Linked DNA regions of Homo sapiens: all the other regions are linked to region 3. The links are contacts of gene promoters, found by promoter capture Hi-C in human tissues and cell types (Jung and others, 2019). All regions are on one chromosome and are shown on one strand. Each heading gives the region's core, a stretch centred on a gene start or on the middle of the fragment in contact. The rest is flanking DNA. Distances are from core to core; before and after follow the strand shown.

The links. The method cuts DNA at HindIII sites, captures the fragments that hold promoters and counts their contacts. A contact is called where the count stands out against the background at its distance.
Region 1: a contact is called between a fragment that was not itself captured here and the fragment with the promoter of SLC24A5 in region 3, in 2 of the 25 tissues and cell types used here (pancreas and small bowel).
Region 2: a contact is called between a fragment that was not itself captured here and the fragment with the promoter of SLC24A5 in region 3, in 2 of the 25 tissues and cell types used here (mesenchymal stem cells and thymus).
Region 4: a contact is called between a fragment that was not itself captured here and the fragment with the promoter of SLC24A5 in region 3, in 2 of the 25 tissues and cell types used here (heart right ventricle and mesendoderm cells).

The regions. Positions count from the first base shown.
Region 1 is chr15:48,047,888-48,053,011 of GRCh38, forward strand. It overlaps LOC124900354 (a long non-coding RNA gene), which reads left to right. Exons shown (of 3, transcript XR_001751516.3): 3 at 903-1,661. Among named protein-coding and RNA genes, the nearest start is that of SLC24A5, 71 kb to the right of the region's middle. The HindIII fragment of the contact is 4,664 bases long and covers 1,288-5,124 here.
Region 2 is chr15:48,206,228-48,211,158 of GRCh38, forward strand. It overlaps SLC12A1 (solute carrier family 12 member 1), which reads left to right and starts at 75. Exons shown (of 27, transcript NM_000338.3): 1 at 75-103; 2 at 1,307-1,912. The coding sequence starts at 1,493. The HindIII fragment of the contact is 5,507 bases long and covers 1-4,931 here.
Region 3 is chr15:48,118,209-48,123,387 of GRCh38, forward strand. SLC24A5 (solute carrier family 24 member 5) reads left to right here and starts at 2,782. Exons shown (of 9, transcript NM_205850.3): 1 at 2,782-2,957; 2 at 3,649-3,828. The coding sequence starts at 2,837. The HindIII fragment of the contact is 7,987 bases long and covers 1,854-5,179 here.
Region 4 is chr15:48,220,790-48,226,274 of GRCh38, forward strand. SLC12A1 (solute carrier family 12 member 1) reads left to right here. Exons shown (of 27, transcript NM_000338.3): 4 at 132-207. Among named protein-coding and RNA genes, the nearest start is that of SLC12A1, 17 kb to the left of the region's middle. The HindIII fragment of the contact is 4,366 bases long and covers 1,813-5,485 here.

The DNA.
Region 1 (5,124 bases), core at 2,370-4,869, 69 kb before region 3:
GAAACTCTTCTTATGTATTTCTTGGTCATTATTATTCTTCTTTACCTTGGGTTCCTGAATTTTCTACTGGGGTATTCATATATTCAATATTGATTTGTAACAAACCTTTTAAGACTAGGGCTAGTAACCCTTTGCCATTGATAATACAGGTACTTTTCCTGGGTTGTCACTGTTTTTACATTTGTTTATAGCATAGCAGTTTTGAACAGATGGACTTGAATCTTTTCTATGTCCTTGTTTTGTAACCTTAGGTAGATTATTTGATCTTTCTAGTCCTCAGTTCCCTCATCTATAAAATAGAAATCGTAATAGTACCTTGATCATTGGGTTAGATATCAAGTCATATCATGTCCTGATAACAGTCTCTGGTACATAATAAGCTTCAATCAATACTAGGTTTATGAATTTTAGTAGGTTTGTTGCCACTCTGACATGTTAACTTCATTTAAAGTGTTTTTTTTCTTTTATGAATTCTGACCTTTGAGGTCATGCTTAGAAAGTCCTTTTCCACCCCCATTATTACACTTTTTTCTATTATTAAATTTTCTTCTTTACATTTAAATTTTTACTCCATCTGAAATCACCTGTGGTGTAAGTTTTGAGTTAGGGAACCTATAATAACTTCATTGTTGTCACAATATCATATACTGAATAACCATTCATTCCCTACTAGATCGAGAGACAACATGCATTATGAATCAAGCTCTTACACATGCAAGGGTTCAGTTCTGGGTTTGCATTTCTGATCATTGATCAACCTGTCTATTCCTAGGCCAATACTTTACTCTTTTAATGATTGTAGATAGCTTCACAGTATATTACAATATCTAATGAGGCAAGACTTCTTATATTACTCTTCTTGGTTAAAATTGTATAATCATTCTATCAATTTATTATTTCAGATAAACTCTACAGTTGGAAATTCTGTCCAATTTCTTCCATGTGGCAGATGCTGTGATGAGCCACCGAGATCCTCCTTCAGGAAGGAAGACTTATTCCTCCAGATGCTAAGAGTGCTACTGGAGGATGGCTCTCAGCTGTGAGCCCTCAGCTGAAGACAGTTGTCTCACCTTGATCAGGCCTCCTTCCAGAAGTAGCCTGCCTTTGATGACAAACTGATTGGGCTGAGGGGAACACTATAAAGGCCAGTTCTCAGTCCCTATTTGATATGACTCTCAAGATTAAAGCTAGTGCAGTGCTCCCCATGGGGACAGGGGAAGGCTTCTTTGGGACTGGTTTGCAGATCACATTCCCCATCTGCCCAGCTCTGCTTCTCCCCCAACCCCTCCATGGTCCAGGAGCTCTCCCAAATAAATGATCTGCCGACTAACCTCAGTCCAGTTAGCTTTCTGGAAAGCCCAACCTGCAACATTTACTTATAAAAAAGTAAAATTGTTGGGTTTTGGATGAGATCCATTACATCTGATTATTAATTTGGCAGGAATCAACATTTTTACTATAATATATTGTCTTCCCACTGTATATTTTTCTATCTGTTTCATTTTTTCTTATAATCTCAAAAACAGTTTGAAGTATTCTTCACATAGGATCTGGAGTTTCTTTTTAAGACTATTCCCAAGTATTTTTCATTTGGCATTGATATTATTAGTGAGATCTAGTACTTTTTCCTCCCTATGGTGCAAAATAAATTTACAATCCCAGACTATCTTGTAGAAGAAATTACATTATTTTGTGTGGCTTCAAAGTCCAGAAGTGGGATGATGGAAACAAATTACACAAAGACACCTTTTAGTTCACTATATGCACAACATTTCCAAGAACTAGGGTGGTCCACTTACTCCATCTCTGAGGAAGACATGAAAAAGACTACCTTCAGGGATTGAGAGTCCCATGACCATGGAAGCACATAAGAAGGAATCAAATAATTATTTCAGAGATGTGATAGACTAGACTCATGTGTATACTTGGACTAGATAATCTGAATCCAAGATTCAGCAACCAGGCTGCTTGAGGAAGCCTGACTTTACATCATCCACATTTCTCCCTCTCTGTTCTACTGGACAGAGCCTTACAAACCACCCTTCCTGTTCTTCTGGCTCTGAATCATGTTTTTATCTGAGGTCTTGCTAAAGCAAGAAGAATATGTTTAAGAGTTATCTTATCACAGAAACATATCTAAGTAGAGAAGTAGGATTGATTCAAGAAATCTGTGACTACTTGAAATGTGAATTAAGCTTCATCACTAGCTATGAGGACCTGGAGTGAACTCATAAAACAAAAACCAGAGAAATATAGTCTACAGAAAACAGGAACTGAAGAATATACTCATAATTTAAAGCAGGAATTGGCAGATGGCAGCCCAAAGACCCAATCCATTTCACCACCTGTTTTTTAAATAAAGTTTTATTGGAACACAGTTACACTCATTCATTTACATGTTATCTACAGCTGCTTTTGTGTTACAGGTAGAGTGGAATAGTTGTCAGAGACGCCATATGTCCTGCAAAATGTTGCCAACTCATTGCTTGGAAGCAAAGTAACCTAAATAATCCAGTGGTTAAGACATGAACTTTAGAGTCAGACTAAGCTTTGAATTTTGATTCTATTATTTTGTCATTGTATGACCTTAAGCAATAAACATGTCATTTTCAAGCCCCAATTATCTCCTCTATTAGCTTGGTGGAACCGGTGATAACCATAGCGTTTTTGACTGCTTAAATATGGCAGTGTTTGTGTGAGGTTCCAACCCAAGCTAGGGTCTGAGGGGAGAATGTGGATTGGTGGCGGGTAGTTGAAAGAACACTCGGGAGGCCATAGGCAAGTGGGACATGGCTTTTTTATGCACCTCCTCTCACAGTGTCAGTGATACATTTATGCACTTCACAGACAATAGTGGCTCAGAACCAGGTGATGAGCCCACCCATGACATGATTACATAACTGATTATATAATGCACAGGACTGTGCACCTGCACTCCAATCCTGCTGTGTCATGTTGCACTGGATGTCTACCTTGGCCTGCTCTTGACTGCCATGCAGCCATCTTCTTTACATTCCACCCGCTAGGCCGAGGGGGTCTTCTTAGTGGGGAAATGTGCCCACAGCAACAATACAGGGAACAGCAACCTACTACTAATATTCCTGCTATGCTGCCCGTGATTATCAGGGCCCAATGTAGACCACAGCCCAGGGATGCCCACCATCTCTGTAGTGGGTCCATCAGTAAGGTTCTCAACTGCTTTAATCTCCTGTGACATCCCTTGCAAGGCTGCTGTTATGTTTTGTTGATTGTCAGGAATAAATGTACAACACTGTGTCCCTATAAGGGCTCAGGTGCCACCTTGGGCAGCCGTTACTATATCTAAGTCCATCCGGTTTTGCAGCACCACCTTTCTAGTTTGATCAGCCTAATTGGTTAACAGGAGGAGGGTGACTTGGGTGTAATTCAGGGCCTAAGCTGTGTGCCCTGTGCATTTCTACAGTAATGACACCTACTCAAGGGATAGTCAAAGCTAAGGGGTGGAGCTACCAAGGGGCCCGCCACACTCACAAAAACTGGGAACATAGTGCTTCCTAGTCATGTGGGCATCTAGGCAATGTGGGAAGCACAGTGGCAGGCACATAAGGCCACCCCCAGGTACAGCGGTCAGTGCAGTTCACTGACAAATATGGCTACCCTGTGTCTCCACAGACCCATGAACTCCAAATACTTGGATATTAAAAAGCATACTCCTAATTAATCCATGGGTCAAATAAGAAGTCTAATGAAAAATTAGATAATATTTTGAACTGAACAAAAATTAAAATACAACATATAAAAATGTGTGGGAGATAGTTAATGCAGTGCTTAGAGAGACATTCATAGCATTAAATGCTTATGTTAGAAAAGAAAAAAATTTCAAATGAAAGATCTAAACTTCTGCTTTCAAAAAGTAAAAATAGAAAAGCAAAATAAATGCAAAGCAGGCAGAAAGAAGAAAATAATAAATATATGAGAAAAAAATAAAATTGAAAAGAGAAAATAGAAAGGAAAATCAATGAAGCTAAACAAATAAAACTGATAAATCTCCAGACAGACAAAGAAAAAAGCAAGAGGGTACTAATTACCAATACAAGAATGAATGATTGTATTCATCATATTCACAAAGCTATCAAAAGAATAATAAGAAAGTACTACAAACAACTCTAAGCACACAAATTTGACAACTTACGTTAAATGGACCAATTCCTAAAAAGACACCAACTACAAAAATGTACCAAATATGATGAAGATAACCCCAAACACTCCATAACTATTTTTAAAATGAAATTAATGTTTAAAATCCTCAGAAAAGGAAATCTCCAGGTCCAGATAATTTTATTGAGGAACTCTACCAAACATTTAGAGAAGAAATAATGCAAATTCTTCACAATCTCTAATTGAAAAGGAGAAAACTATTTCCAATTCATTTTATGGCTCCAGCCAAAACCAAAGCCAAAGATACCAAATACTGAAGATAGTAAAAGAAAATTATAGACCAATCTCCCTCAAAAATATAGATGTAAAAATTCTCAACAAAACTAATTAAATATAAACCCAGCCATACATGAAGATGTAATAATAATGACCACATTGAATTTATTCTAGGAATATAAGGCTGGTTCAGTATTTGAAAGTTAGTCAATGTAATTCACCATATTAACAGACAAAGAAGTAAAACCTCATAATCACATTAATTTGATGCAGAAAAACTTTGGAAAAAATTCAGTGTACATTGATGATAAAATCTCTCAGCAAACTAGGAATAAAATTGAACTTCTTTAACCTAATGAAAGGTATGTTAGGTTAAGGGAGTTCAATTTTATTCCTAGTTTGCTGAGAGATTTTATCATCAACATATATTGAATTTTGGAGAAATAATGAACTGAGAAAGATTTGATGCTTTTCCCTGTGTTAGTCAGGGTTCTCTGGAGAAATAAAAAAACAATGGAATGTTTATAAATCCATGCTGGAGATCCAGGAAAGCCAGTGGTGTAGTCAGAAACCTGAGGGGTAAAGGATTAACTGTGCAGATTCCAGTAGACTTATGAAGGCCTGAGAACCAGGAGCACAGAGGGCAGAAGATCAATGTCCCAGCTCAAGCTGCTTAAGTCAGGCAGAGGGTGAGAAAATCCAATTTTCCTC
Region 2 (4,931 bases), core at 1,192-3,691, 88 kb after region 3:
CAATAAGCAGAAGCCTAACTTTCTGGCTGAAAGCTAAGTGTCCCATATATTCCTGGGTGACGCTGAAGCAGGTTACATTTCCTCAGAAGAAGGCTCCTTGGTGGTAAGTTGAACATTTCTGGGCAGGGTAAAAATCATACTTAATATTATGTCATAAAGTAGATTCTGAGGAGTAGGTGAGGGTGTCAAGGACTATGAAGAGAAGTGTTTTGTAAAAACTAAAACGATAATAGCTTCATTTATAATTTCCCCAGGAAAGGTTACTTGAGAAATGAAGTTGAGGGTTTTTTTAATTCAAATACACAGCTTTAATAACTGCATGAGAGAGACAAGTTTTTATTTATATTTATCTCATTTTTCTAGAACTTCCCTTGAAAAGCCAAATTTTAAGGTATCAATAAGGAAATATAATTCTAAAGCAAGTGTTTTAAGACAGGCCAGTACTATGAAATTGCGAAAATTATTGTGAAGTCTATTCACCTCACAGTCAAATATAAACCTCTCAATTATTGAAGACATTTCATTAAAATGAGTCAGTAGAGCATGATTATTTTACCTAAACATAGCAGAGGACTTTTTTAAGGTATATGACTTATTTCTTATAGATATATGACTTATTTCTATATTCATATTTTTTTAAGGTTTCATGTTAGTATTTGCAAAACAAACAAATGTATGAGCAAATGAAACATTTGGATCTTGTAAAAGATCTAAGAATTCACAGAGACATCATCTTGATGGGATGTATTTTTTAAATGCATATTCTAAAACATAATTTTTTACTTGTTGCATAGGTAACAAAATTTGGAATTTATAAGTTGAACATGTACAGATTTTTATAAACTAGCAAGAATATATTTTTTAGAAGTTTTGTTTTTCATTTTATATGTTGTATAGTATATATTCCTAACAATCAAAATACTTTGCAGTTTCAGCATTTAGTACTGTCAGTGAACTGTGTCTTAGGCTGAGAATATTCTCATCAGCTCTTACTGTATTCAATAAGTAAAGTTACATCTTTTCTAAAGTCACAGTGAACTCCAGTGCACTGAATTCAAGCAAATACTACAAACACAGGTAACATTTTAATGACTGCATTGGAAGTTCTGTTTGCTGGAACAGTTTTCCAGTTATTTATTATCAGATTTAATTACTCACATGACTAAGGTTCCTGGACAGATAAATTTTAGTGAAATGAGTTTAAAATTGTATGTCTTGTAAAATAAAACTGTTCCCTTATATCCCACCCTTACCTAAATATATTTGTATTACTTGGAACAAGTTTAATTTTCTTTTTCAATGACAGCTTTGAAGAACATCCTGAAGATTATATCGGAGACAATATATCAAGAATCTATTTATTGAATCATCTAGAACAAAAGCCAGGAGCTCCCTAATGGAAGCACATTAGTGTTTATTTTGATGAAGAAATATATAGATTTTTTAAAACAACCACAAAGTAGATAGCTCAGTAAAAAATCAATTTTGGAAGATGTCACTGAACAACTCTTCCAATGTATTTCTGGATTCAGTGCCCAGTAATACCAATCGCTTTCAAGTTAGTGTCATAAATGAGAACCATGAGAGCAGTGCAGCTGCAGATGACAATACTGACCCACCACATTATGAAGAAACCTCTTTTGGGGATGAAGCTCAGAAAAGACTCAGAATCAGCTTTAGGCCTGGGAATCAGGAGTGCTATGACAATTTCCTCCAAAGTGGAGAAACTGCTAAAACAGATGCCAGTTTTCACGCTTATGATTCTCACACAAACACATACTATCTACAAACTTTTGGCCACAACACCATGGATGCCGTTCCCAAGATAGAGTACTATCGTAACACCGGCAGCATCAGTGGGCCCAAGGTCAACCGACCCAGCCTGCTTGAGATTCACGAGCAACTCGCAAAGGTAAGCTTGAAGGACACAAGCAAGTCTCCTCCCTTATTCATAACTTCAGATAATTTCCTTCTCTTTCATTACACTATGAATGAATGTGAAACAGTCAAATGGAGAGGTCTATTCCAAACACTATCCATCTTACTTACAAAACTGTCCCTAGTTCCCAGAAAAGTGTTTCACAGATGCTTTTTCTTTGGATTTTTTTTTTTCTTGAGACAAAGTCTTGCTCTGTCACCCAGCCTGAAGTGTGGTGGACACTGCAGCTTTGAACTCCTGGGCTCAAACAATCCTCCCACCTCAACCTCCTGAGTAGCTGGGACTGCAGGCATGCACCACCACACCTGACTAACTTTTTTATTTTTTGTAGAGACAGGGTCTTGCTATGTTGCTCAAGCTGGTCTCGAACTCCTGACTTAAAGGGATCCTCCCACCTTGGCCTCCCAAAGAGATGGGATTGCAGGCATGAGCCACTGTGCCCAGCTCCACAAATGTTTTCTGACTTAGGATAGAGAACTAAAGAATTAACTCTAAATGTTAGGCAATATGTTGTACCTTGTATATGATTATAGTCCACTCAATTCACACTTGGTTAAACACGTCAAACTGAATACCAAGCTGGTTTCACGTCAGTATTAATGTCTCTATGTCAATCGTATAAAAAGCAAAACACTTGTGCTTGCTGTAGTTAATACTGTGGGTGACAGCCTTTAGTGTGTAGGGGTATTTTTTATATTCTTTAAAGAAAGGGCAGAGATTTATAAGATTCAGCATTTTATCCCTTCCTCTTTAAAACTTTGCCTGAGGCTCCTGAATGTGCTTAAGCATATAAAAATAACTAAATTAAAGTACAGAAGCAGCAGAAGTGACTAAACTTTTCATTATTTAAGAAATACAGCCAGGGTTCCCAAGTCTGTTAGAAGTGAGGCAGCACTTTTCCCAATCTTTTTTGAGACGAAGTATCGCTCTTGTTGCCCGGGCTGGAGTGCAATGGTGCGATCTCGGCTCACCGCAACCTCCACCTCCTGGGTTCAAGCGATTCTTCTGCCTCAGCCCCCTGAGTAGCTGGGATTACAGGCATGTGCCACCACCACACTCAGCTAATTTTTTTGTATTTTTAGTAAAGATGGGGTTTCTCCATGTTGGTCAGGCTGGTCTTGAACTCCCAACCTCAGGTGATCTGCCCACCTCAGCCTCCCAAAGTGCTGGGATTACAGGTGTGAGCCACCATGCCCGGCCTCCAATCTTAGAACTTAGTAGATTTCTTCTTCCATAACTTTCTCCAAAATATACTGATCACCTTTATCTTCCTGCTCTTCCAGACCAGTTTGGAATAAATATCATTCTTTATAAAACACAATTACCTGCTAAAAAGAATGATTAGATGTCACATATTCAAATGAGTTTACTCTTGCCCAAGTTTTGAGGAGAAGAAAATGATTCAAACAGTTCCTTTTGTATGCATTCATCCATTCGTTCCTTCAATATTTTTTTAAATGATCATCCACACCCGAGAGTCTAGGAATACTACTCTCAGGAAAGATGCTAATAAAGGGGAAAATCTTTCTTTAGTTTCTGCTCACCTTTCCTTCCACAAGAAAATCCATCTCCAAATCGTATTTGCCTTGGCTGCTAGGGTCCCTGACTCTGGGTCCTACCACCAGAGACCAAGTGACTTCCTGAGGAGGAGCCCATGTTTTTAATTTTGTTTCCTTGTCCCCTTTCCCCACCAAAACTTGCTAGTCCTGTGTACTAAATCGGCAACAGTCTGCCAAATGGCTGGTTTCCTTATAGACCTAAGATTTAGATTTTATCTGGCATATTTGATGCTTTAATCAAAAGAAGTTAGCAATGCGACAATTTCAGACAACATGGTAGCCCCCATGAAGAATTTTGAGAAGGGAGGCAATTTGAACTGTTGAAATCCAGCTGCGGTGTCACTGTCCTTTTCTGTGTCAAGAAAGGAAAGGAAAATGGCAGAGAGAAAAAGGAGAAGAGAAAGGAAAAGAAGGTTGACAGAAGCAGCCCCCAGGAGTTTCCAAGACATGGAAAGGGCAGAAACAAATTTAGGGCATTATAAAAAGATATTTCAATTGTTTCTGAAGAATTAAAATGAATCAAAGTTCTTTTTTAAAAAGACCTGAAATTCTATCCCACAATACTCTACCACGTCACACATGATAATTTTTAAATCTGCCTCCTTTTTTAAAGTTAGTGTCACAATTTAAATATTATCATTCACCTACTTCCCCAATTTACAACAAAAGAAAATAGAATTCTAACTTCATTAAAAAAGAAATGGGATAAATTCACATTGTTCTTAGGACTGACATTCCCGACAGAGAAAAGTAGCTTATTTATAATTGCAAAAGCCATGGCTTATGTAAATCTTTCAATAAAGGGAGAAAAGCTCTGAAGGAACAGGTGTTTAGAAAGCCATCTAAAGCCTGGGTGTGGTGGCTCATGCCTGTAATCCTAGCACTTTGGGAGGCTGAGGCTGGTGGATCACCTGAGGTCAAAAATTCAAGACCAGCCATGACCAACTGGTGAAATCTCTTCTCTACTTAAAAAAAAAAAAAAAAAAAAAATTAGCCAGGCATGGTGGCACATGCTTGTAATCCTGGCCCTGGGAGACTGAGGCAGGAGAATTGCTTGAACCTGAGAGGCAGAGGTTGCGGTGAGCTGAGATAGTGCCACTGCACTCCAGTCTGGGCAACAGGAGTGAAACTCCATCTCAAAAAAAAAAAGAAACAGAAAGCCATCTAAATGACCACACAGTAGGAATGTTATAGCTGCATTAGATAAATGTAATAGCTGTTTGGAATATTGTATCACTTTTGAAGACATAAAATGAAACTAAAGACTGAACTTCGACTTAAAGCATTTTTTTTCTTAGACACAAAGGAATGGCAAATTAAAATATTAAAAATTAGGCCTAAGCTCTGAATAATCATTTTGAAAGTGTATAGTAATAAGCTACTCTTTTACAGACTTGATGCTCAGTTATCTAGGACCCTTCATCTTGATTAAA
Region 3 (5,179 bases), core at 1,532-4,031:
GAAACAGAAGAGAAAAAAAAGGTAGGACTATAGACTAAAAGAAAGTTAAAAGATACCTTTTTAAGGCAAAATTAAGTTATAGCATCATAAAGATGCACTGGATTACATCACGGACTATTAAAACTACACACATGAGGAAATGATTACAAGTCAGGAGAGTGGTTACTTTCAGAGAAAGGGAGGAGAGGAGACTGAGGCTCACAAAGGGGCTTCTAGGGGGGCTGGCAAACTTATTTATTTACTTATTTTTATTATACTTTAAGTTCTAGGGTACATGTGCACAACACGCAGGTTTGTTACATATGTATACATGTGCCATGTTGGTGTGCTGCACCCATTAACTCGTCATTTACATTAGGTATATCTCCTAATGCTATCCCTCCCCCCTCCCCCCACCCCACAACAGTCCCCAGTGTGTGATGTTCCCCTTCCTGTGTCCATGTGTTCTCATTGTTCAGTTCCCACCTATGAGGGAGAACATGCGGTGTTTGGTTTTTTGTCCTTGCGATAGTTTGCTGAGAATGATGGTTTCCAGCTTCATCCATGTCTCTACAAAGGACATGAACTCATCCTTTTTTATGGCTGCATAGTATTCCATGGTGTATATGTGGGTGGCTGGCAAATTTCTATTTCTTGACCTTGGATGTTTACAAGGGTGTTCATCTTATGAAAATAATAATAATATAGTAAACTATTCATGTATGTAGTTTTATCTGGGTGTTATTTTACAAGAAAAAGATCTTTAAGATGCTTTTGCAAAATGAAGAATGTGTGTGAAGCAAATCTAATTCATCTCCTAAAATCTCTTTTCGTGGTAAATCCATATTTAGATGGTAATTTGTTTAGACCAAGCATATGCATGTTCTGGCAATGTGTTTTCAAGACCATTCATTGCAAAGTAATCGATCTGCAAATGTTGATGGAGTACTAACTATGTGCAAGGCACTTCTGCTGTTCCATAGCAATTGGCTCGTACCTTCAGACACTTGCTCTCTCTCTTGAATTAGCTGACAATGTGCATTGGAAGCTTTCACTTTGGGTTTGAGCTTTTTATATTATTGGTATTTTATTTGTTTATGATGTTTTATGAATTGATTGAAGTACTGTGTGTTGAAGAGGAGAGGCTCGCAAGACACTTCCACTCAGCATAAAACTAAACGACCTCTTCCCTTAGTCTTAGCTAGCTGGCATGTAGGCCACTCCCCAGTGATCAGGGTGCTGCTTCCTGCGAGTGTAGACAGCTGGAACTCTGCTTGTTGAGAATCTGCTCTATACTGGGCTATGCTTTGGTGACTCATCATCACAGCCTCACAATCACACCATACATCTGAATATCTAGTTCCTAGAAATGACAGTTTTGGAGAGGTTTATAATGGATACCAATTCCCACAAAAAAAAGTAGTTTTTGAGACTTTCTTCCGACCCAAGATCACAAACATCAGGAAGCAACTTACTCCGTTCCATCAGATAAAGCTAGTTTCTAAATAGAAAACTTACTAGGCATATCAATTTTTGTGTTTTTTCTGCAAAGCAAAGGAACCATGAAAGTTGCAAAACTACAAAAATTTTTATGAACAAAAACGCTTCTATTTCAATTGAAAGAAAGAAAGAGAAAGAAAAAGAAAGAAAGAAAGAAAGAAAGAAAGAAAGAAAGAAAGAAAAAGAAAAGAAAAGAAAGGAAGAAAGAAAGAAGGAACGAAGGAAAGGAAGGAAGGAGGGAAGGAAGGAAGGAGAGAAAGAGGAGGAGGAGAAGAAAGGAAGGAAGGAAGGAAGGAAGGAAGGGAGGAAGGAAGGAAAACAAACAAAACAAAGAAAAAGAAAGGAAGGAATGAAGACGTCAGCCAGAGGTCGTTCTGAGCAAATTATTTGCGTTCATTTTTGTAATTCTTACCACAACCCAAATACAGGTGATCCCTGTTTTACAGATAGCAGAACTGTGTAGCAGAAAGGTTAAATAACATGCCAAAAGTCACATAACTAGTAAGTAGCAGTGCTAGGGCTCAAATCATGTGGTCTGGTTCCATAGCCTGTGCTATTAGCTATAGGTTACTACACTGCCAAAAGTTCTAAATATCTTGGCAAGCCTCATAAATGTTAGCATAGGGAAGATAGTAGTCTATATTTAAACACTACCTTGTACGTCAAATTTGCATTTTAGATAGCTCCCTCTGGCAGAAAGCACAGCCTATCAATGATCAAATAGCATCCACTCCATCTCAATAATTCTTGAAACTGTCAGCTACTCTCCATCCCCGTTGCCACAGCCTTGGTTCAAGCCACTATCATTTCTCAGCTAGACGATTGCAATGATGCCCTAACTGGCCTTTCTCCCTTTGGCCCTAACTGAAGATGAAGATGAGAGGCTAAAACAGAAATATGAAAGGATGCCGAGCTAGCCAAAGCATGTACATATATTAATATCAACCCAAACAACTTCTAGGGGAAAGGGCTGGAGAGAGATGGGAAGCAGTTGCAAACCCAACTTTTTACAAATCTAGAGAAAGTCAAAAGCAGAGCCAGTATGAAGACATTAAATAAAACCACACATTTTCATAAAGTACAAGCTGCCTTAATCTGCCCTTAGAGACTGTAGGCCATGGAAATAGCTATAGACAATGGTTGTCAGCTCTCCTCCGTCTCCTCCGGCCTCCCTGGAGATTGGGTCTCCTGATCAGAGAAGCTTGACTGGCTACACTCGCCCTTTCTCCTGTGCTGGCCTTGCTGAGATGTGCCCTGGGCAGGGTATTGGGCAGGAAGGAGACTCCTCACATGATCCAGTTTAATCCTCCTCTTCTCCCTTCCTGAAGCTGCACGCTGCAGTAAGAGCACAGCAGAAATGCAGACAAAAGGGGGCCAAACATGGGCGAGAAGGGCTCTGTTGCTCGGCATCCTGTGGGCCACTGCACATCTGCCTCTCTCAGGGACCTCCCTGCCCCAACGTCTCCCAAGGGCCACAGGTAGGTGGACATTGGGGTCAGTTAGCTCTGCAGCAGCAGCTGCTGCTGCTGCTACCACATACAGATGAAGGGACAAAAAGAGGAAAATTCTCAATGGGCTCACTTTTACTTACGCTTCTGAATTTTAGCATTTAAAAAGATATCAAACACTTTTGATCCTTCAAATAAGTTCTTAAATATACTCCAAAGTAATTCACAGAGATCATAGTAGGCCAAGTCTCCAGTTTTTGTTCTTGGAGACTTTTTGGTGAAAACAAAAAATCTTTCATCTTAGAAATTCTCTCTGCAACAGTGGATGGATTCTTTGCAGGCCTGTGAACAATTTAGGCTCTGCAATGAGAAAACGAAATTGTATAAACAATAGAAATCTTCATGTATCAGAGATACAGTTTCTACTTGGGGAAGAGAGATTCAGAAATAAAAACAAGGAGGAGTGATTTCATGATTTCCTCTTTTTAATTCTTCACCATCATCAACATATTTCATTAAGATATCTCTTTTCAGTCCCCCAAAAAAATTTTTTGAAAACTCTACAACTGTGTTATATTCAGAAGCGCTTTATACATTTTCAGTGGGTCCTTAAAATTCCACCCGGTTACCCCACACTTACAGATTTCTTAAGGAAGCTCTCTGTGGGCTTGGAATGTGTGACTCCAAACTCTTCAAACTTTCACCTCCTTTTCCTTAACAGGAAATAGCACCCAATGTGTTATTTCTCCATCATCGGAGTTTCCCGAAGGGTTTTTCACGAGACAGGAGCGCAGAGATGGAGGCATCATAATCTATTTCCTAATTATCGTTTACATGTTCATGGCCATATCTATTGTCTGTGATGAATACTTCCTACCCTCCCTGGAAATCATCAGTGAATGTAAGTGGCTGGAAAGTTGCCCTGTAACCTTCTGGGAGAGTGTGCCACACAGATATGACTGTCTTTGAAATAGCTCAGCAGCTGTCCTGTACTTCTCAACTGGTTGCAGAGCACCAGCTTCTTGTTGTGGGGTCCCGTGTCTTAAGGAACTGGTCGAGTGTGGTTTCTCTTGGTAGTTAATGTGAATCAGAGTTTCTTCAAGTTAGAACCCGGCAGTTATTATTTTTCTGCCTATTTCCAGAAATCTCTAGTTTGTCTACTGCCTGGATGTTTGTTATAAGAACTGTTCCAAGATTTCACTTGTATGTACTTTGTGTGCGCTCCTAATACAATGAAACTCCTAATATTTGCCATTTTATGCTTCAAAAAACTTTTTTTTATTTTTACTCTAAGCTCGCTATAACTTTGATTATAAAAAGTGATAAACAAATGCAATTAAGGACCACCCTCCCCATCTTCCTTTCCCAGCATCCTACCATTAAGGAAATTAATTGATATTTAAGAACCAATAAACAGATAGATGAATAAGTCCTGTATCCTAAGTGACCTTAGACATCAGATGACTGTAAAATCAGTTATTAAAAATTAAGAGCTCCATTTATTGGTTTCTGAAAATAAGATCAGCCGGTCCAAGCCTCTGAGCTCTGTTCCTTCAGCAGTATATGTTGCCCAGAATTCTGAGCATAGACCTTCACTGGTGCACTGGTCCCTAAACACCAGGATAGCAGTTATGTTCTGTGCCATATGAGCAAAAGTGTGTTTCTAGACTTGGTCTCATGTTTGGTTATTTATTTGGCTGAGCATGCCCACATTACAGCAAAAAGCAATGTCAAAATTAAGGATTGGGTTTCCTATTGCATATTCACAAGACTGCACAGTAACAGCAGCGTCCTCAACCTCCACCCACCGCCCCCGACACACACACATTGCTGCCATTTCTTTATAAAGGGAAAGAGCATGAATGTAAACTCTCCCTTTTCCCATCACCCCACCCCCAACCCCTGCTGAAATGCAAAGCGAATTATTTCCTCCCTTGTTCACTGCAGTATACCAGAATCTGTAGGCTCTAAAACAGTAACTGGTGATAGCAGAGGCACTCAACACCTATCTGTTTAATGAAAATATATAATATATATATATATGATAGATTAGCCTAATTTATTACAATTTTTCTTAAGTAGATACAAACATATGCTTTTATCTTGACGTTACATCTTATATATAATTGATATTTTCTTTAATAAAGATTAAATTATTTAACAGTTTTACTTAGATTAATGAAATACAAGAAAAATAGAAGAGAAAGATAAAATCACCTGTATTTCCATCTACACAGTTACCATTTGGTATA
Region 4 (5,485 bases), core at 2,746-5,245, 100 kb after region 3:
ATGAAAACTATCCATTCAATGTTCTAGTGGATTAAGAGTGAACAAGGCCTGGGCACAGCTTTATGAAGAGCCCCGGGTTTTGTCCCACTATCGTTTGTCCTGTCTCCTTTCAATACCGCTTCTATCCACAGGTAAGATGCATGCTGAACATCTGGGGAGTCATGCTCTTCATTCGCCTCTCCTGGATTGTTGGAGAAGCTGGAATTGGTAAGCATTTTTCCCCTCCTAAATAATTTTGCATGTAAATCATAAATTCAATAAGCAATCTTTTTTCACCATTAATACTGAATGTGAGATGAAGGTCACAGAAATAATTTACAGTTGGGCTCCTTTTACTTTGCTTCTTTGACGATGTTTGTCAGAAAGCAAAGGTGAAGAGTTAACTCCTATGAAACTGGAATTTTCCAGCTTGCCAAACAGGTGAATGCTCAAGGAGATCTCTCTCTTTTGATAGAGTTTTAGGTACACAGACATATAATAGCATGTTAATTTTAGATAATAATATTTGTATTGGGGGACATATTGACATTTGCCTCTCATTTGTTACAGAGTATCCTTCTTGGCATGATTGGTAAAACTTCACTGAACAAAAATAACTTGTGAGAAAACTGGTGAAAATGTGACCTGACTAATAAAAATGCTGAATTGTTGAACTTTTTCCAAAGAAAATAATTGTGTTACTTTCGGGTACCAGCAGTAAGAAAACAAAGGTTAATCAAATATTGCCAGATACAAGCTTTAAGTGAAAGATGAAATGACTAAGATAATATGTGCATTACTGTTATTTTTTTCTAAATGAAAAATGGATAATAATGACATTATTTTGAGTGGTTGTTTAATGTTTTAAATATTACATTCTATTTTAAATATTATTTCTTCTAGCAAATCTTTTTTGTTGAAAGTATATTAGTAAAGTTTTTATGAAAAATCTAATTGAATTGTATTAAAGTTCCCCATTTAATGAGATAAAAATTAATAATGTTCTATTCCATATATGGGAAATACATTATGAATTCACTTTCCGGAGAAGACTTAGTCTCAGGAATATGGAAGTTCTATTGTGCTTTCAGATAGCACTCCAGAAGGTATCTCAATTCACATTTTAAAAGGTAGTTGGTCATTATTTATTGGCTTTGCTCTTCAAAACACATTCAGCATCACCGGAAGACTAACTCAAAAAAGAAAGGGCTAAGCTGTAAATTGAAAAAATGGAGCCAGTTCCCATAGTTTTTCCATGTTTCATGTTTGGCAACTGCTGGGTTCCTGACAGAGGGCTGCTTGCCGGTTTTATGATGCATAACAAATGAATGCTCACAGCCGCAGGGTCCAAAATAAGTATATGCCGTTCCATGGAAAATCTGCATCTTAATATTGCCAAGGTTTTGCTCCAGGGTTTCATGCAAAATTAGGTTTTTAAGGGTAGTTTTAGTAACTTATTGAGATCATCAAGAAACATTACTTTGTTTGGAGGTGTGAGAGTAGCCAAGGGCAAGAGTAATTCTTTTTAACGCAACTTATTTAACATCCATACGTTTGGGCAATAATCTGAACTTTAATCAGATCTTACATTACTCTTCACAGTCAACCCAGTATTGAGTTTCTTGCAAAACTGTAGAGAATGAAGAATCCTATCTTCTGCTAAACAGTTTATTATGCTATCATATTAAAATATTAAAATAAAATTAATATTATTTTAATAAAGATCTTTATATTGAAGTAGTTAAATTATATATTAGAAGAGAGTAAAATTCTACCTAGTAAGTGTTCAATGGATTTTCCTTTGAATGGAGGTTTGTGTTTTTCTTTTCGTTTCTTTTCTTTTTTTAATTCTCGGAAGACAGACTTTAGTGAGTACTAGAAACTTATTGTCAACCTTACTCAGTTTTACTGGCCTTTGCTATGAACCTAAAACTTAATGAGTTAAGTCACCATCTGGGTCCCATTTGGGTTTTCCTTATTGGGGAAGAAAAGAAACAAACACATCTATTTGTTCTTGCTTTGGGGGTAGATTGAGGAAGAAATCTGAATACATTTTCAAGCCCAGACCCTGGGAATAGAGCCAGAAGGAATCTGGAGCCAGGAGTAACAGTAGCTACAGCCCTTGGGTAACCATTCTGGGCTACGAGTTTTGGCTGTCTTGTTCCCAAAAGCAAAGGGCTGAATGAGCTGCTAATGCTGTCTAGTTGTTCTTCTCTATCTTGGAGACCTTGCTGGGGCAAGATGGTTTCCAATAAATTTAACCATCAAGCAAGGAAGTTAGGTGTGAAAGCCGGTATGACCTGAAGCAAGTCACTTACATTCGGTGTTTCCCTTTCTTTTCTAAATATTAAGGAGCAGGTTAATTCCTACCCAATGAATTCTTTGAAGATAAAGCTAAAGTACCTTTCTGAACAGGCAGACACAAGTTGAAATAGGCTGAGGGTAGCTTAGTTGTCTTACTGAGGGATGCATAAGAATTATCTGGGAAGTTAGGTTAGGAAACTGCAGAATCCTGGGATTTACTTTTAAAGATCCAAATTCAGTAGGTCTGAGCATTTTTAATAAGCACCCCAGGCATTTCCTGAAGCAGGTGGTTCAAGAACCACAATTTCAGAAAACAATGAACTGAATGTTCTCCAAGCTGCCTTCTACCCTGGGATTTTATGTTTGATTATGAGAGAGAAGCAAATCCCTTGCTGTTCAAAAGTATAAAACTTTGTTCCAAGATTTCAAATGGTTTGGAGAAATATATACAATGCAAAAGGATGAATTAAGAATTGTTGAAAAAACTAGAGTCAAAAGGAAAATAACAGTGAGGAAATAATAAGGTTGGAGTAGGTTTAGTGTTATGAAATGCAAATTATATGGTCCTGTAGAGTTTCTGGGGTATGCTAAACATTTTCTATCAAGCTTCTTCAAAACAAAGTCAGGAGCAAAACAAGTGCAGAATAAATCACCTTTAGTGGCACAAGGACCTGAAGCCACATAGTGATACAGAGGCACTGCTCACCACAGTATCCCTGCAATAGATATGAAGAATTTGGTCCAACTATTTTTTACAACCCCAAGCTTTTAAGAGTCTACAGGGTCTAAAGCAATATGGTCCAAGTTTGCAGCCTGTGCTTAGTTAGCTTCTTCCCACTCCACCTTAACCTGCAAAAAAGCCTAGAGGCTGCTGTTAGAGACAGGGTATGGCCAAGAGCTTCAAAAGAACCAGCCTTTAATACCTTGACTCATTCCCACTGCTGCCCTTAACCTCCTTCCACTTTCCCTTCTCCTTGAGCATGGCCAGAGAGATCACAGCCTCTCGTGGCTGACTACCCTTCTAACCATACTTGGAACGAGAGAGCCTGCCAACAACTATGGAGCATTCACTTTACATAGGGGAGCTTACCAAACAGCCCAGACCAGAGCATTCTGGATGGAGCCAGGGTGAGTTCAGTGGCTGTGACTCCACAGCCCTCTCCCTGAATTCTGGGTCGGCCTCCATTAGAGAGGGTATTGTAGGAGAGGAAAAACAGTTATCTTCTACCCATCTTAGGTTCATTGGCTGGGGGCCTATAAATTAGATTGACAAAAGTCAGATCAATAAGAGAAAAACAGAATTTATTAACATGTACATGGTACATACACATGGGACCACTCAGTGATGAGTGACTTAAAGGGTTGCTTAGAACATGGGCTTATATATCATCTTAACAACAGAACAATTAAATCGTAGAGAGGTGATAAGACAAAGGAAAAGGACTTTTCATTCATAGGGTGGCAAATGCTGCCAAGGTAAATATATAAGGAAAGGAATGGAAGATAAGAGCTTGTCAGCAAAGCTTGTTGTGTAGATGCCTGTGGTGCCTTTGTCAGGCTGATAAGCATCCAAAATTGTCTCTGGTAATCAGAGACATCACTTTCTGGTAGAGAGGGGAGGGAGGACAAATTTATGTCCCGTTTTTAGGTAAATAGGAAGGGATCGAGAGCTTTTCTTGTATCTACTTTTTTTCGGTTGTCTCAGCTCCAAATAATCCTTATGCCAGAGTGATATATTCTGATACCCTTTTGTAGACTCCTGGCTATGTGTTTCTTGAAGCTGAAAGCAGTCACGGCTTCGTTGAATTCTGGCCTCTACCACTTTCTCCCTCTCTTTATAATCATCAACCTTCTGAACCATAAAATCCTTGGGGCAGCTTTTTAAATTTCATTTTATTTGTGTCTTGTGTTTCTTACATTACCTGCCACATAGCTGGATATATAGTAGGTTTTTAAAAAGCAGTAAGTATTATAACTACTGTGAATATGATCAAAAAGCAATATCATTGAGTGTGTACTGTGTTCCATGTGCTATGCTAGCCATTTTACACATGCATTCTTTCTAATTTCATTGCTATTTTTGGCTCAGTTATTTATTTATTTGAGGTGACTTATCATAATAAGCAACTTTCCAGAATTCACACGGTCAACAAGTTAATGTAATTTAATTTCATTCTTTCCACTTTACCCATCTGCCAGATGAATAATTTGCTATACTGTATGTAGTTCTCCACCTCTATGTGACCAAATGTACATAAAAAGATAGTAACCTGGAAGGATGAACATTTAATCTCTAGTTATCTTGACAGCTTGGAATTGTAGGCCAATTATCATGTTTATAGGTGTCTATAACTTCTCCAAAGATGGAATTCTGTCAGGTGCAATAGTGCAAGCCTGTAGTCCCAGCTACTTGGGAGGCTGAGGTAGGAGGATGACTTGAGGCCAGGAGTTTGAGACCAGCCTGGAAAAAATAGCAAGACTGTCTCTAAAAATAATAATAATAATAAGATGGGGTGCACATTAAATTTTGACCAGCCCTAGTGGCTTTGTTTTGTACAACTTAGTTCTGCACATTTTAGCTCTTAAGTTTCTTGGAACCAGAGCTACTACAAGCAGAAAACTTCAAAGCTAAGCATTTACTCCATGGTGATTTCCTAGCCAACTTGTTAAACTCAAATGTGGTCCTTTGATGTTTACCCTAGACTTGCTGGTTTTTATGTAAATGATCCAATGAATTCTTCCACCATTTAATACCTTTATTTTTCCTCTTTCAACTGAGGTCTTGGTGTGATTATCATCGGCTTAGCCGTGACAGTGACTGGTATCACTGGTTTATCCACCTCTGCTATTGCCACAAATGGATGTGTCAGAGGAGGTAATTAAACTTGTGACCCGCACCATCATTTGTAAGGTAAAGGCAACACAGGCTCTAACAGTTCACCACTGACCTTTCTGGAGTGTTTTCAAAGGTAATGCAAGTTGGTTTCTTTTCCCCCATCAGGCAAAGAGATGCAAGAAAAATGGGGAAGGATTTAACCTTTGTCAAACCCCCAACTTTCTCATTCCAGTTCCTTCAAGCAAGAAAGAAGGTCAAATGTCATGTTTTCTCTTTTCACAGCCAGGATAGTTTCTCTCCCAGGACACCAGCATAAGTCAACTTTTCCTTTCCAAGTCTGCACTTTCGATTGTGTTTACTTTTGGA